Regions from separate parts of the Homo sapiens genome. Here all the other regions are linked to region 4. Evidence: promoter capture Hi-C in 16 types of primary human blood cells and fetal thymus (Javierre and others, 2016). All regions are on one chromosome and are shown on one strand. Each heading gives the region's core, a stretch centred on a gene start or on the middle of the fragment in contact. The rest is flanking DNA. Distances are from core to core; before and after follow the strand shown.

Region 1 (3,147 bases), core at 1-2,500, 540 kb after region 4:
CCCGGAGCCCACTGACCACCTGGAGAGCAGGGCCCCGTAAGCATTCCATCAGCCTCCGCCTCTTTTCCCCCTCGGGCACCTGCCACATCTGTAGCATCTCAGTGGTGTGCTCAAGCCAGGCATCAAAGGCCAGTGCACCTGGGATGGATATGGTGTTCCCAGAAAACACTCTTAGTTCTCGGTACAACATTTGTTCTAGCAGAGGCTGCACTGCTGCCCCCAGAGTCTGGGCCCAGGTCCAGAACTCTGGTGATATAGTCACTCTTGGAGCCGAACAATTGGTGTCCGACCCGAGGACTCGGTTCATATCTGACACGGTCCGCCTCTCCTCCTCTAAGAAGCGGTTCAGTCTGTTGAGAAATTCCCCATCTGAGTTACGGGGTTTTACAATCACTTCCCAGGGCCCCCCCTTTCCTGGTATTTCCCTTGGGAGCAAAGCATAGTCGATATCTTGTGCCAGCTCCAGTAGAATCGCCTGGGCGTTCTCCTCCCTCCTAAACATCCTGCCAATCACCCTGTATCTGCCCAGGTGCCTGCAAGCCTCCTGGAGTGTCTCCTCAAACTCATCCTCGCCACAGTCCTCGGGGATCCCCAGGATGAGCATGCACCTCCGGGTGTTCAGGTGTTCCCCCCGACACCAGTCCTGTAACAAGGTCAACGGCATGTCCTCGAATCTCTGCGGATACTAATTTGGGGGGAGTGATCAGGGCGTGAGGCACATATCTGGATCAACTCCTAGGGTGATCGCAGAAGGCCCAGGTCTCCACAGCCTGTGAATGCGAGCAGGGCGAGAGCGAGGTTAATGCCCACCTCTCCGCACGCCCACATCCACGCCCACCCCCACCCCCACCCCCAGCCGCCCTCCTCCCCGGGCGGCGCCTCTGCAGCCAGGCCCCGCCCCTGCCCAGCCCCCCACCCCCACCCCCCGTGGGGTCTCTGCGGGCCTCAGCCCCCTCCCCGCGCTGCCCCAGGACCCTGGACCCCTGCCCTGCAGGCTGCTTCAGTTCTGATAGGGCGGACAGGCGAGGGGCGGCGGAGTCTCCCGGGGCCCAGCGTCTCCCTCCCCAGGTGGGTCTGTTACCTTCTCCCAGGGCAAGGTCCCTTCTGGTCGGGGTCCCCAGAGGGCTCTCCGGGGGCTATGCGCGGCGGCGGCGGCGGCGGCGGACGGGGGTCGGGCACCCCTGGCTCCCAGCGCGGACGTTCGCTCAGACTGTGGCTCTCCCTCGCTCGCGCAGCACGTGGGCCAGTGCGCCGGCGCCTGCTCGCCGCGGCTCTCTGCAGTGCGGACACGGGGCGGGGGCGCGGCGGCGGTGCAGCGCGGACCCCTCCGCGTCGTCCGGGAGACCGCAGGGCCATTGGCGCGGACGGGTCACGAGGTCGGGCTCTCGCCGCCGCCCCTGGGGGCCCCAGGTCCCCGGGTGACGTCACCTGCTCCTCTCCCCTAGCCCCCCCGCCACGGGGGCCCCCGGGCCCCCGGGCACACAAGCGCCCGCCCACCCCCATCCCCACTGCGGTGGCCAAAGGTCTGTGGCGGCCAGTCCCCGTGCCTTTGGCTCTCACCACAGCGGTTCCTGGTCCCGGCTCCTGCCCCTCCCGCACGTGCCACGGAGGTGCCAGCGGGGCGAGGGGTCTGCACCCCGGCGTGCCCACCAGAGGGCCAGGGAGTGGTCTGAGGTGCGCCAGGCAGCTCTGCATTATGGCCAGGGTCAGGGAGCCGGGTTCTGGGGCCTGTTCACCTGCTCTTGTCCTCCCCCTCCCCGTCCAGGACTGGTCCTCTGGCTGGCGAGGCCAGGGGCACCTGGTGCGGGTGCCATTCCGTGCAGGAGATGCCCCAGGCACTCATGCAGGTCACGCACACCACCCCAAGGAGGGTCAGCCATCTCCCCGCTGTCCATCCCGCTGCTGGGACCTGAGGCCCTCCGGCCAAAGCGCTTCGCTGCCCAGGTGCCAGTGGACAGGTTTACCGGGACCTTTCCGGTTTTGTGCGCTGCAAATCTAGTGACTTGGGAAACCACTTCCAGGACTTGGAGCCCAATCCCTTGGGCCTGCCCTTCCTTGGCAGCCGTGCGCCGTGGGTTCTATTGTATCCGTTTGATCCCAGGGCAGCAGCCAAATGAAGAAGGGAGTGACTGTCCCTCAGGCAGTGGGCCCAGGTGTTCTGTGGGTCCTGCCTGCTCTGCCAGCCGCATGCTCAACTCCTATTCACACAGCTTCAGCTCCTCTCCAAACACAACGAAAAGGGGCTTGTGGTTGATTTTCAGGCCAGGTTCACCCATCCAGCCAAGTCTGGGAGGCCACCTTGCAGTGAGTGGGGCACAAAACTGTCCACTGACTTCCTGCCCCACCCTGAGTTCTGCTCGTCAGCCTGGCACTTGTCAGGGACCAAGAAGAAATGGCCCCAAGGGCTTTTTCCTGGTCAGACAGAATTCCTGAAACATCTTTACAGGAGTTATTTCATTTGCTCCTCACCAGAACTCTGAAGCAGGTATTAACATTATCCTGATTTGACTCATGAGGCTCAGAGAGATTAAGAGACATTTTCAAGGTCACACACCGTATTGAAGGTAGAATTGAGACTGGATTCTAAATTAGTGCCCATCAGTCTTTGGGTAGAATTGGGACTATTTCTCCCCTGGTTGCTTCATGCCTATTAGAATTTATTTCTCTCATTTTTGTCCATTCACAGTCCCTTGCTTTGTCACTCCAAGGGCTCAACCAGCTTCAAACTGAACCTTCATCTGCCCAACTTGCAGGGGTGGAAACAGAGGTTCAGAGAAGGGACACTACTGGCCCAAGGTCACACAGTGAGTAAATGACAAAGCTTGAGATGTCAAGGGGAGATGCCAAGTATTCATGCCAAGGCAGAGGGGCGTGTCTGGAATGTCTCCGGAAAGAAGCCTGTGAAGTTCCCAGACAGACGCAGTGATCTGTGGATGTTCTGGGCATTGGGAAAAAAGGATTTGGAAACACTGGTATCAAGACAATAGATGTGAATATGTCCAATTTGAAAAGTTTTAGAACTCCTTTATATTGGAGTTAACCTTTGCCCTTGAAACCAGTGGAAATGTCTTAATTACTTTTGCTTCCCCATCTCCTTGCATGGTAGATAACACAGCAGCACCAAAGTTGGGGAACTGATGGATAAAC
Region 2 (3,572 bases), core at 442-2,941, 560 kb after region 4:
TGCCTCATTCTCCCAAGTTGCTGGGATTACAGGCACACACCACCACGCCCAGCTAATTTTTTGTATTTTAGTAGAGACAGGGTTTCACCACATTGCCCTGGGTGGTCTTGAACTCCCGAGCTCAGGCAATCTGCCCACCTCGGCCTCCCAGAATGCTGGGATTACAGGCATGAGCCACCGCACCCAGCCTGATTATTTTTAAAACATCCCAAATAAGCAGTTTTTTAGCCATTTAAAGCCTGCTTGCTTTGCATATGCAGAGACTCTCCAACGTGGTACCGATTGACCTCACCCAGACACATAAGCTCCCTCTTTGTTCCTCCTCTGCCCTGTGAGTCCCTTTGCCTTCCTTCCCTTCCAGGTGGTGGCCTCTTAGCCCATCCATAAACCTCTGGATAGTCTTGTGCTGTGAGGACTTTCCCTCTTATGCAACCCTGTCCAAGTGCCACCGAATAAAGCTTGTTGTGTTACTGCCCCTTGCAGTCATATCTTTTTCCTTGATCAGCCCTCAAATTCCTTCAACAAACTCCCTGAGTTTACTAAATGATGGCAAAGCCCATTCAGCAAACACCATTCCATCGAGGCTATTGAAGAGATTAAACATGTCAGAGGTTATTTTTAAAGGAAATTTTTAGGAGCAAAGAGTGCTTTGGCTTTTCTCCTACCCTCCCCAGGAGGGAGGATAAGGAGGCGCTGTCTCTAAAACCAAATCAAATGCATCAGTTCAGGTCCTCCAGGAAGTCAAGATGGAGTTAGAAGTGCAAAAAAATTATCACAGAAGATAAAGGGGAGAGGACACAGAAAGAGGCAGGAAGAACCTTCAGACCACAGGGCGGGTCTAACACAAGTGGAAAGAGAGGGAGAAGGAAGGATTGGAAGGAAGAGTCTCAGACAGTGGTGCAGCTTTCAAAAAGTCTTGGCCAGCCCAACGGGGAGCTCTGATGCAAAGATGGCCCATAGAGGAGTCCCACACTGAGCAAAAATGACCCTAGTACCCTGCTGTGCTAAGCCTCTGATAGGGAGCTGCCTGGAACTAGCATGGTCTCACCTCAAATGCTGCCTTGGACCCTGAAGACATTCCACCTGAATGCTGTCAACTAATTGCACTCCTCATAACAGGCCCTCTCTTAAAGTGACATCCAAGCAGTGCACTTCCATAGCTGCCACAGGCCATCCTTTGTGCCACACAGATCCACTACTCCATAGCTGCTCGGGAAGCAGTTCCTCCTTGGCTCCTGTGGGCCACTCTTTCTGAAGGTAAACTTAGAAGTTGGCAGTCGGGTGCGGTGGCTCATGCCTGTAATCCCAGCACTTTGGGAGGCCGAGGTGGGCAGATCACGAGGTCAGGAGATCAAGACCATCCTGGCTAACACGGTGAAATCCCGTCCCTACTAAAAATACAAAAAAAAAAAAAAAATTTAGCCAGGCATGGTGGCAGGCCTGTAGTCCCAGCTACTCGGGAGGCTGAGGCAGGAGAATGGTGTGAACCTGAGAGGCAGAGCTTGCAGTGAGCAGAGATCGCACCACTGCACTCCAGCCTGGGTGACAGAGTGAGACTCTGTCTCAAAAAAAAAAAAAAAAAAGAAAAAGAAGAAGAGAGAAGTTGGCGGGACAAAGTACAAGCCCCATCAGTGCAGTTGGTCCTGCAACTGCAACAGGTATTTATGATTACCCTCTTCCACTATCCATTCTAGATTTCCCTCACCCTCAACTATAACCTCTGCAGTTTTGGCAGCTTCCTTCATCCCTGAGTGGTCTGAGTCCCTCGTATCCATACCCTTCTTAGGCCACTCACACTGTACTTGATCACTTACAGCCAATGAGGCAAAAGAGTACCAAAAGTCACTAGAAAAGATCATCTGAGTCCCGAGCATATTCCTCTCTGCCTCTATTATATAACAGCAGTCTTACCTCTTCCTTGATAATTCTCTATTACTCCCACCACCATGATGATTCTTCCTGCTTGCTGGTGTCTGGAATCAAGGAACCCCAAAATGCCAGGCAGCAGTGGTGGCTATAAGTACAACTGGAACCCAGGCTGTATGTCCTGATAAGAGTGCAAAGAACCAGAACCTCTACCCTGCAGAGCCTAGATTTAAGGAGATGGGAAGCACAATGTTGGCCCCTGAGTAGGTCACTGGGAAAGATGGAAAGTGAGGCCACTTTGGCCTCCACCCTATGGCTTCCAGACCCATGTATTCTTCCTACTGGGGACACAGTGCCACATGGACATCTCTGACACAGTGCATATACTGCATCCTGGAGGATGGCGCCTCATCCTTGTAGGGTATTGCCTCTAAGCCTGTGCTCCAGCTACACCTCCAGAAGGCCATTCCAACACTCTATCAAGCTAGTAGCTTCTGGGTGGCACAGTGTGACACCAGACTATCCCATGCTCATGGGCTCATGCACATACCTCCTTCACTCTGAAGTGTGTCCCTTGGTAGGATACCTTCTTGTGTGGGATTCCAGGTCTGCAGGTCATGCACTCTGAAAGCCCCTGGATAGTGATGTTAGCTGAAGTTCTGCCAGGAGGAAAGGAAAACCCATACTCAGAATAGGTTTCTGTCCTTGTAAGAAAGAATGGATGTCTCTTCTAAGAGATAATGGACCCAACATGGAGAAATGGTGCCATATTGGGGTCTCAGCATTGGTCTCTTTCACTGGAAGACTGGACCTTCAGAGCTAGTAGCAGCAATAAAGGCCTTGTTAAGTAGGATTCCATGCTTCTGGGCCCGTGAGCAGTCTCCATCTCTCACACTGTGGCCCATCTGTTTATGTGCCCATTGTGTCAGTTCTGGACTGGCTGATGGTGAAGGGTGGCTAATATCCAACTTGCTGAGTCATTTTGTGCACTTGACAGTTCAGCTCCTCTTCTACTGTTGATGCTTTCTGGTGGGCACTTGTATGTGACGTAAGCTTTTCCTTCATGCTCACTCCCATGTTTATCCATATGCCTCTACCCCAGACTTCCTTGTCTCCAGTTTTCCAGTCCTTTCCTTTTTAGACCTTTGGCTAGTCCATTGGCCACTGCTCAGAAATCTGTGCATATTCCTACCCTGGGCCACTTCTTCCACACAAAGTGGATGATAAGGTGCACACCTTAAAGCTCCACCCATCAGGAAGATCTTCCCTCCCCACTGTCTTTCAGGGACGTCCCTAGGTGGGTGTGGCTGGAATATAGCTGCTGTCCATTTCAGAGACTGAGCCAAACCATTCATAAGCAATATTCAGGCCTTTTCCTCCTCCTTCATCTAGCCACATGAGATCGCACAGCCATAGGTGTGAGCTAAGGGAAGGGCACTGGTGTAACTGTGATGGGTCACACAGGCATCTTGGCTGCTACTTCCATAGCTCACTCACACTTCTGTTCCTGACTAGATGAACTATTTCCATCGTGCAATGGATTGCTGGAGGGTCATCTGACTTTTCACTTTGTGGTCTGACAGACCCAGCTTATAAGGAGAAATTCCAGCTTATAAGTGACACACAGTCACTTGGTGTCCCATGGTCAAGCGTTGTCTCTGCAAGGGCCCAGAAGCACACCAGAAGCTGTTTTCTAAAAAGGTGTA
Region 3 (3,306 bases), core at 452-2,951, 620 kb after region 4:
AGAAGAAATTTGGACACACAGACAAGGAAGATAATGTGAAGTAAAACAGGAAGAAGATGGCCACCTACAAGCAAAAAAGAGAGGCTTGGAACAGATTCTTCCCTCACAGCCCTCAGAAGGAACCAAGCCTGTTGACACCTTGGTCTTGGACTCCTGGCATCCAAAACTGTGAGAGAATAAATTTCTGTTGTTTAAGACTTTCGTTTTGTAGTACTTTGTTATGACAGGCCTGGGAAACTAACACAATACCCCTTCCCCATAAGACTTAGTTAGGACTCAGGAATGCTCTCCTTGTTTACCTATGACACGGACAGACACAAACCCTCCAAATTCCCATTTGCATTAATCAGAGCACTCCAGAAAAGCAAAACCAGTAGGAGCTGATAGATATATTATTTTGGGAATTGGCACACATGATTATGGAGGCCAACAAATTCTATGATATGCCATCTGCAAGCTGTAGAATAGAGAAAGATGGTGGAATAATTCAGTCCAAGTTCAAAGGCCTGAGATCCAGGGGAGTTTATGGTGTTACTTCTAATCCAAAGCTAAAGGAGTGGGGAGCGCGGCCCATTGGTGTACACCTTGGAGTCTGAAAGCCTTAGATCCAGGAGCTCTGATGTCTGAGGACAGGAGAAGATAGATGTTTCAGCTCAAGAAGAGAGAGAAAGAGAGAATGAGCGAGCGAGAGAGAGAGAGAGAGCGAGAGAAAGAATTTGCTCTCCCTCCATCTTTTTGTTCTATTTGGCCCCTCAAACAACTGGATGATGCCTTCCTACACTGGTGAGGGTGATCTTTATTCATTGTACTGATAGAAATGCTATCTCTCCTGGAAACACCCTCACAGACACACCCAGAAATAATGTTTTTACCAGCTATCTGAGCATCCCTTATCCCAGTCAAGTTGACACATACAATTAACTAGCACATCCCTCTACCTCTCACTCTGTTCTTCTGTTCCACTTCATGGCAAAGCTCAGACTTGTCTATGCCTACCACCCACACTTTCTCAGCTCCCATGCTCTCCTTGATTCTCTGAAACACTGGTTTCACCCATTCTGCTACTGAAAGGACTCAACAAAGTGACCAAACAACCTCAATCTTGATGAATCCAAAGGTCAATTCTCTGTCCTCATCTTATTTACACCAACATCTCAGTAGATTTTGACCCAGGTGACTATTCTTCCCTCATGAAGCACTTTTTCCCCTTGGCTCCTGGGATACCACATGCTTCGGGTTTCCTCCTACTTCACTGGCCTCTCCTGATAGAGTTTTCTGATTCCTCCTTCTCTGCTTGATTCTCCGCAGGACTCAGTGCCCTGGGTCCTCTTCTCTTTACTATCTACATTCACTTCCTTGGTGATCTCAGCCTGTCCATGCTTTCATTATCATTGGCAGGCTGCTTCTAAGCCCAGTTCCCTCTTAAGCTCTAGGCTTATATGTCAAAGTGCCTAACCCACATCTCCACTTGGGCAACAGAACATCTCAATACCAATTTTCCTAACACAAAACTCTGGCTCCCAAGCCACACCATTCAATCAGTGCCAAACTGCTCATAAGCTCACCCAAGATACTGGCATCACCATCTACCCAATTGCTCTGATTCCAAAACTAGACTCAGTTTGTCTTCTTCTCTTTCCCTCATAGATTCATATTCCATTATCAGCAAGTACTGCAGTTCTACTTCCAAATACATGTAAACTCCATCCACTTCTATCTCTACCACTGCCATCATTGTCCAGGCCACCGTCACTGATACTTGCAGTGCAATAGCCTCCTCTCTCTCTCCTCTTGCTCCTCTATAGTCCATTCTCCAAATATAACTCATAGTGATTTTTAAAAATCAGAAATCAAATGACATCATTTCTTTGCTCAGAAGCCATGGATGGCTTCCCATATCACTTAGACTAAAACTCAAACTTCTAACCATGGCCTGCAAACCCTACATGATCTGGCCCCCACTCTGCTGTGTGTTTACCACCCTCTAGCCCCGCTGGCTAGTCCCTCAAACACACCTGGCTCTTAATCTTATCTCAGGGCCTCTGCCCTTACTGGCCCCTCTACCTGGAAAACTTGTGGGAATGGAAATATTCTAGGCCTGTGCTGCCCAACAGGGTAGTCTCTAGCCATGTGTGGTTACTAGGCACTTGAAATGGAGCTAGTGTGACTGAGAAACTGGATTTTAAAAATGTATTTTAGTTGATTTCTATTTAAACACAAGTAGCCTAACGTGGGATGTGGAGACCATATTTAGCATGTGGAGACCAGAGCTCTAGCTCGTTCTGCTTTATAATTTTACAGAACTTGTCTGAAATCATCTATTTTATGCATTCATTTAGTCAACATTTACTGAGCACCTACTATGTGCAGGGCACTATTATAGGCACTGGGAATTCAGCAGTGGAGCAAAAGGACAAAAATCTCTCATGGAGATTTCATTTAAGTAAGGAAATACAAACAATAAAATAAGAAGAAAACATGTAGTATGTTAGATTGTGATAAGTGCTACAGAGAAAAAGCAAGGAAGCAGGTATAAGGAGTGTTATGGGTGTGCACAGAATTTTAAATTGGATGGTCCATGAAGGTGATCAGGAAGAAGGTAGCATCTGAGCAGAGATGTGAAGGACGCAAGGGAGATGGCCACGTGGGCATCTGGGAGATGAGCATTCCAGGCAGAAGAGACAACCAGCACACAGCTCAAGGCCAGAGAATGCCTGGAATGGTATGAGTAAGAAGGAAAGGTGGTGGGGGCTGGATAAAGCAGCACCTGCTTGGCCAGCCACCTTGAGGACTCTGGCTTTTAGTCCAAGTAAAATGAGGCCTGGGGAAGGTATGGAGCAGAAGAGGGATGTGATCGGATTGAAACTCTTCACTCTTGCAGCCATGCTGGGGTACACTTCAGGGTGGGAAGGAAGGAAAGATGATTGCTTAGGTTATTGTAATCATCCACATGGGGGATTAGGGGACAATATGTTTATGGTGAAGGTGGGGAGAAATGGTTTGCCTCTGGATCTGTTTGGCAGGGAGAGTTAACAGGCTAGGCTGATGGGCTGGAAGTGCAGTGGGAGATCAGCAGGTGATGTGTAGGTTTTGGTCTATGCAAGCTGAAGAATGGGACTGCCATTTACGGAGCTGTGGATGGCAATGCATAGAGCATGGCTTCCATGGTTGAGTATGAAATGACAATTAGACTCCCCAGGTGGAAATGAGCTGTGGGAAGTTGAAACACAAGTCTGAAGTTCAGGAAGATGATGTGGGCTGGAGCAGCTGCAATTCCAGAAGGAGGCAGTGTATACTGTATCTGTT
Region 4 (3,228 bases), core at 83-2,582:
CGGAGGCACAGATTGGAGTGATGGGGCCACAAGCCCAGGAAGAACTCAGGCTGCAGAAGCTGGAAGAGCAAGGAAGAACTGATCCTCTGCCAGAGCCTTTGAGGGAGCAAAGCCCTAGTGTCACCTCCATTTCAGGTGTCTGGCCTCCAGAATTGAGAGAGGATATACTTCTGCTGTTTTTAGCAACCCAATTTGTGGTCATTTGTTACAGCAGCCCCAGGAAACTAACCCAGCTGGGATGGAGAGAGGACTTGGGGAGGCTGGTGGAGGCAGGAAGTGCTGAGGAAGGAGAATGAGGCCGGACTGGGTGTGTGGGGTGGGGGTAAGAGGTGGAGACTTCCACACCATCAGGAGATCAAGGCGCCTGGGCAGAAGGGTTTAGGGAGCAGTAGCTTTTTCCTCTCCATATTGCCAGCTGTCTGAAATTGTAGCAATGATCTGAATGTATCAGAATGACTCCAGTGACTGTCACTAACTTGGGAGTGAGTACCTTTGGGGTTCTATGTCCCTAAAGCCTGATGCACCATTTCCTGCTTGTGGAAGACGCGAATGAAAAATGAGATGGTAAATACCTGAGTTCGATATTCAGCATTCATTCAGCAAACATTTATTAGGCTCCTACTGTGCGTCGCGCTGGAAAGGCAAGCAGAAGCTAGATTCCCAATCGATCCCGGGAGGCTGGACGATCCAGACACAAACACCGTTCATGCGTCTATTCGAAAAGGCCCTCTTGGAATTTTGTGCACAGCATTTCCTTGGGGTGTCGATGGATCGGGGTCTGCAAACATTAGCACCTTTTCCGGTGGCCGCTGTCTTCTCAGACCTCAGACACCGGCGCCTCCCCGTGAACTCCCGCAGGCGTCCCTAGCCCAGGGCTTGGCGGGCGCTGCCGGTTGTACCTGGCCTAAGCCACGCTGGGCCGACAGCCCGGGGCGACACCCCCTTCGGACGGCGGGGATTTGCGGCTCGGGTGACCGGAGGTGCCCTCCCGCGGGTCTCGGAGCAGCTCCGCGGGCTCTCGCTCCGCGGGGAGGAGCCTGCGTCTCCCAGGGGCGGGGCTCGAGGCGCCTAGGGGCCGGTGGACACATACCAGCCGCCCCGTGGTGTCGGCCTCTGCGCCTGCGCCTGCGCCTGCGCGCGCGGCCAGGCAGCGTCTGTGGCGCAAGCGCGCGCTCACCCTTGGGCGAGGGCCCTGAGGGGCGGGGCGGGGCGGAGGAGCGGCGGGGCGGCGAGGGGCGGGGCGGGGCGGCGAGGGGCGGGGCGGGGCGGCGAGGGGCGGGGCGGGGCGGGGCCGGACGCGGCCGGGTGGGGCGGCAGCGCCCGCCGCGAGCACCTCCAGTTCTGCCGGCTTCTGCGCGCCGGGGCCGCCTCTCCTTCCGCCGGTGCCGCGGCGCCTCATGGAAGCCCCGGAGGGCGGCGGAGGGGGGCCTGCAGCGCGGGGCCCGGAGGGGCAGCCGGCGCCCGAAGCCAGGGTGCACTTCCGAGTGGCGAGGTTCATCATGGAGGCAGGTAACCGCGGCCGGGGGAGGCCAGGACAGGCGGCGCCGCGGCCCGCTTCGCGGAGCGGGCCCGGCTGGCCAGGCCGGCCTTCTGGAGTGCTCACCGTAGCAGAGGCCGGGAAGCCCTGCTCGGGGCTGAGGACCTCCGCCTTTGCGCCGCGCCCGGTGTGCTGAGCAGTGAGCCGCGAGGTATCCCCATGGCGTGGACCGGTGTGCAGGCCCTAGGAGAGGACGTGGCCGGGTTGGGCCTCCAGCGAGGCGGAGACCGGCCCGGGCGCCCGCAGCTCTGCGCAGTGCGCCACGCCTTCTGCCGGCACCCGCGGCCCTGCACTCCGGTAGACTTTATGGCGCTTAGTCGCGCGGAGCCTTTTGGAGAACGCTGTCCGAGGGTTCCTGTCACTCCGGGGACCTAGGCTGCTTGCAGCTCCTGTTCCGAACCCTGCCAGGACATCCACAGTAGTGTTGGGCTCCGCGCTTCCCAGGCGAGGTGATTAAGCTAAGATCTCTGTAGAAACATCGTTTCCATCCAGCCATCAACAGTATTTTTTTTTTTTTCGAGACGGAGTCTCGCTCTGTTGGCCAGGCTGGAGTGCAGTGGCGTGATCTCGGCTCACTGCAACCTCCGTCTCCCGGACTAAAGCAATTATCCTTCCTCACGCTTCCGAGTAGCTGGAATTACAGGTGTGTGCCACCGTACCCGGCTAATGTTTGTATTTTTAGTAGAGACGGGGTTTCACCATGTTGGCCAGGCTGGTCTTGAACTCCTGGCCTCAGGTGATCCAGTTGCCTCGCCCTCCCAAAGTGCTGGGATTACAGGCGTGAGCTACCTCGTCCGGCCCATCAACAGTATCTTGATAGGAGATACTGTTAGTTGGCGGGTAGTTATTTCCTACCTTTACTGCTTGGGGGAGAAGGGTTGGGCAGATGTGCTTTCTACCCAAGGTGGGCGGAGAGTCTGAGGACTGCTGCAGGACTGTTCATCCCAGTGATATGTAAATTTACTGTAATTTGCAAGAAGAGTTGCAAAGTTATTATTAGGGAAGGATGGCAGTGACACCTCATCTGCTACCGTCTGCTCGGAGGGTCCGTGTAAATTGGGGTTTGCTCTGTAAAACAAAGCTTGGAAGGTCATGTCAGTAACAGCACCTTATCTGGCATCTCCTGGAATGAGGGGTCCCAGGTAGGAATTGTCTTTATATAACAAGTTTAGACCTTCTGAGGGACTTCTTTATAAAATGTATTACACAATCCTTTGTCCTTTGTAGGAGGCTAAATATTGATTTCCCAAAGATGTCCCTATCCTAATCCCTGGAACCTGTGAATGTCATCTTATATAGCAAAAGAGATTTTGAAGATGTGATTAGAGACCTTAAGATGGGAGATCATCCTAGATTATCTGGGTGTAACCACACCCATCCTTATAAGGCAAAGGCAGGAGGAGTCACCGTCAGAGAAGGCCACGTGAGGACAGAAGCAGAGTTAGAAGCTTTGAAGATGGAGGAAGGGGCCAGCAACCAAGGAATGCAGCCCTCCTCTAGAAGCTGGAAAAGGCAAGGAAACATTCTCCCATGGAGCCTCCAGAAGGAGCCAGCCCTGCTTAGACGTTGATCTTAGCTTTCTAGGCTAGTTTTGGACTTCTGACTTCCAGGATCGGAGGAGTATAAATGTGTGTTGTTTAAGTGGCTGAATTTGTGGTGATTTGTTGCAGTAGCCCTAGGGAACTGATCTA
Region 5 (3,392 bases), core at 144-2,643, 600 kb after region 4:
TGGACATTGAGGTGCCACCAGAACAAGCATGTGAGCTCCAAGATGCCCTTTTTGACCACGGAGCAGGAAAACACACCACCAATATTATTGAGAACATCTTAAAGCCCAGACACTTGGGCCAATGGGAGGCTGGGAGGAGCTAAGACTGCTTGTGTTAGGCTATAGCCTCAGCAGTAGCTGCCCAGACCAGATTGCTGGCAGTCTCAGTATGTTACTGGTCAGCTTCTTCTCTAGCTTTTTCTAAAACTATTCTCCACTCTTTGGAGGTAAGTAGTGCATTTTGTAAATATTGCACATTCTCCCAGTTAGGATTATGAGTAGTGTAAATGGAGAACACATTTTCCATCCTCCTTGGGTCACCCCAGTAGGTAAGCATGTTATCCTTCCAATGGTATAGGTCAGAGACTGAGAATGGCACGTGTACCCACACAGGTCCCGCTGGCTGACCCTGGGCATTGATTCTGCCAATGGGTACTTGCCTAATGGAATTGCCCTACCTCAACCAGAGTGGCTCCCTGACGATATTGAGTGCCCTGTCAGGTGTGTGAAGGAGAGAGCACTCCTGGCCTGTTTACGTCACTATTATTCCCCAGTCCAGCCAGGGTAATAGGGGCTCCCATTCCTGCCTGAGCAGGGGGGCGGGGCCATTGCTCTGGCTTCCATATCTCGCCCCCCATAAGGTGGAGAGATAGGATTGGTGCATTCATTTGTTGAAGTAGTAAGTCATCTTCTGATTTTTGAGAACCGGGTAAAACCTTTACCTCTTTCACCTTAGAGGCATTTCTTTCAACCATGATTCTATGCAAATTATACCTTCTTTGAATTAGCTCACTTTGGTACAAAAGCATAAAAGCTTGTACATTCAGAATTTCATCCCATTTACCTTCTTGTTCACAAAACAATTCTAATTGAAAAATTATAATGTAATTTAGATATCTAAATTCTGGCTACCATTCCCTGGATCCTAGGGGATACCGTGGTCAGGCAGAATTTCAACATTAAAAACATTTTTCTTTTTCATGGGCTCAAAGCTAAAAATGGCCCGATTCTGCAGAATGCACCATAATGGGCTACAAGGAGGAACATAATTTGTAGTTTCCATTTTAGATGACAAGACCTTAGGTGAAAAACCCTTAATGCCTCAGCTGGGCTTTAGGCAGATTGTCAAGCAAGCAAATCAAAATCAAAATGTGATTTCTCAAAGTCTCCATCCCTTCAGTTGCTTATGGAGTATTCCCTACTAAACACACTATGATGAAGCAGAGTCCCGTAAATTGCCAAAGCAAGGCCAGATGTCCTGCCAATGCAGAACGTAGTGTTTGAAGAAAATATACCTTGGGGCTATTGCCCACAAATTTGTCACCTGCCAAAAAATGTCTTCCCAGCCAAGTGTCTCATTTCTAATGCTGCAAAAGTAAAAGCAACACAAGCCAGTGATGCCTTGGTGGCAGCCAAATACACAGATCCATCCCTGAATAAAATAATTCAGGCAGCTACTGGACAGGGTCCAAGGGTGCTCATAGCCAGGGGCTGATATGCTATTGGCAAGACACCCACTCAGGGCTTTTGAGTTGTGGCCAAGTGTTATTGAACTGAACTGGAGTTGTCTTGCCCATCACAGTAAGATCAGATATCCACACTGAGGTTTGCAGTGGTGGAAAGGAAGACATTTATTTGCAGGGCACTAAGCAAGGAGGATCAGGCAGCTAACGCTCAAATCCAGAGCTCCGTGATGGCTTGCAGGTAAGGGCTTTTAAAGGTAGGAGTAAATTTCAGGAAAGCAGAAGTTACAGGCTAATTCATAAATCATTACACAGAGGTTACCCATTGGTTTTGGCCTAAAAGGGTGGGATATCTTGAAGTGAGGGCTTACAGGCCATAAGTAGGTTCAAAGGTCTTTTGGTTTGCAGTTGGTTAAGCAAGAGAAGCTTTGTTTAAAATTTTTGGGTCAGCAGAAAAGAATATTAGCTCTGACAGATGGATGTGATTTCCTCCAGGCCCCTCATGAAGAAGTTTGGAACAAAGAGTGGTGGTCAGAGTTCAGTCCTCAGCTCCCCCTTTTCTGGGGTCTGCATGCCAGCTGATCAGTTTGGTGGGGATCCAAGTTTCTGAAAAACAACTCAGAGATATATGTTAACATGTTATCTTTAGTTTCTATAGGGAAAGAAAACATCCTGTGATTGTAGCTTCCTTGGCTGTTGTTTTAAGCTATTACCTTCTTGCTTATCAACTTGCTTATTTACTTCTCAGGGCTAGCTAGGTGCCTGGCATTGCCCCTGAAAGAACTCAACATTTTCCTTTATTTATATGCTTAAGGGGGCCTGCAGACCCCTGAGACGGGGTCCCTGCTCCATCTCACTTTCCTCATTGTGTATTCTTGGCAGCTTTGTTGAAAATTAATTGTCCATGTATGCTACTGTATGATCCAGCAATTCCACTATGGATAGATATCCTAAGCAAATAAAATCACTATCTCTAAGTGGTATCTGGACTCTCTTGTCCATTTCAGCATTATTCACAATAGCTAAGATAAGAAAACAACCTAAGTGACCACTGACAGATGAATGGATAAAGAAAATGTTTTTTATATATCTATATTATATATATTATATATAATATATATAATATATTATATATAAATGTCTTATATATATTTTTATATAATATTTAATATATAATATAATATATATTATATAATATATATTTTATATATTATATATATTATATATTATATATATATTATATATAATATATATAATATATATTTATATATATTTTATATATAATATATATAACATATATTTATATATATATTATTTATATATATTATATATATATTTTATATATATTATATAGTATATGTATTATATATTATATATATTATATATAATTTTCTTTATTATATATATTATATATAATATGAATATACTATATATTCATATCATATATTATATATTCATATTATATATATAACATATATATGTTATATATATAACATATATATGTTTTATATATGTTTTATTTATATATATATATATATATATTCACAAGCAGCCTTAAAAAAAGAAGGAAATGCTGCCCTTGGCAATAACATGAATGAACCTTGAGGATATTATGCTAAGTGAAATAAACCAGACACAGGAAGCCAAACATTGCATGCTCTTGTATGTGAAATCTTTTTTTGTTTGTTTTTTGAGACAGGGTCTCATTCTGTTGGCCAGGCTGGAGTGCAGTCACAGCTCAGTATAGCCTCAACCTCCCGAGCTGAAGCAATCCTCCTACCTCAGCCTCAGGAGTAGCTGGGACCACAGGCATGTGCCATCACACCCAGACACTTTTTAAATTTTTTTTGTAGAGACAGGGGTCTCCTTATGTTGCCCAGGCTGGTCTCG

The links. The method cuts DNA at HindIII sites, captures the fragments that hold promoters and counts their contacts. A CHiCAGO score of 5 or more calls a contact.
Region 1: a contact is called between the fragment with the promoter of PNMA3 here and the fragment with the promoter of CCNQ in region 4, in 4 of 17 cell types (M1 macrophages, non-activated CD4 T cells, naive CD4 T cells and 1 more). The highest score is 6.7, in M1 macrophages.
Region 2: a fragment that was not itself captured here is called in contact with the fragment with the promoter of CCNQ in region 4 in 6 of 17 cell types (naive B cells, monocytes, activated CD4 T cells and 3 more); the score reaches 7.2 in naive B cells.
Region 3: a fragment that was not itself captured here is called in contact with the fragment with the promoter of CCNQ in region 4 in 3 of 17 cell types (naive CD8 T cells, total CD4 T cells and naive CD4 T cells); the score reaches 7.7 in naive CD8 T cells.
Region 5: a fragment that was not itself captured here is called in contact with the fragment with the promoter of CCNQ in region 4 in 7 of 17 cell types (naive CD8 T cells, total CD4 T cells, erythroblasts and 4 more); the score reaches 8.5 in naive CD8 T cells.

What each region holds. Positions count from the first base shown.
Region 1 is chrX:153,054,573-153,057,719 of GRCh38, reverse strand. PNMA3 (PNMA family member 3) reads right to left here and starts at 1,250. Exons shown (of 2, transcript NM_013364.6): 1 at 1,082-1,250; 2 at 1-770. The coding sequence starts at 664. The HindIII fragment of the contact is 3,087 bases long and covers 1-2,823 here.
Region 2 is chrX:153,036,626-153,040,197 of GRCh38, reverse strand. No RefSeq gene overlaps it. Among named protein-coding and RNA genes, the nearest start is that of PNMA3, 18 kb to the left of the region's middle. The HindIII fragment of the contact is 2,461 bases long and covers 461-2,921 here.
Region 3 is chrX:152,978,954-152,982,259 of GRCh38, reverse strand. No RefSeq gene overlaps it. Among named protein-coding and RNA genes, the nearest start is that of PNMA5, 14 kb to the left of the region's middle. The HindIII fragment of the contact is 5,734 bases long and covers 1-3,306 here.
Region 4 is chrX:153,597,243-153,600,470 of GRCh38, reverse strand. It overlaps CCNQ (cyclin Q), which reads left to right and starts at 1,332. Exons shown (of 5, transcript NM_152274.5): 1 at 1,332-1,509. The coding sequence starts at 1,398. LOC105373383 (a long non-coding RNA gene) reads right to left here and starts at 1,131. Exons shown (of 1, transcript NR_131982.1): 1 at 578-1,131. RefSeq lists silencers at 962-1,101, 1,202-1,251, 1,262-1,621. The HindIII fragment of the contact is 8,000 bases long and covers 1-2,620 here.
Region 5 is chrX:152,997,986-153,001,377 of GRCh38, reverse strand. No RefSeq gene overlaps it. Among named protein-coding and RNA genes, the nearest start is that of PNMA5, 5.6 kb to the right of the region's middle. The HindIII fragment of the contact is 1,075 bases long and covers 856-1,930 here.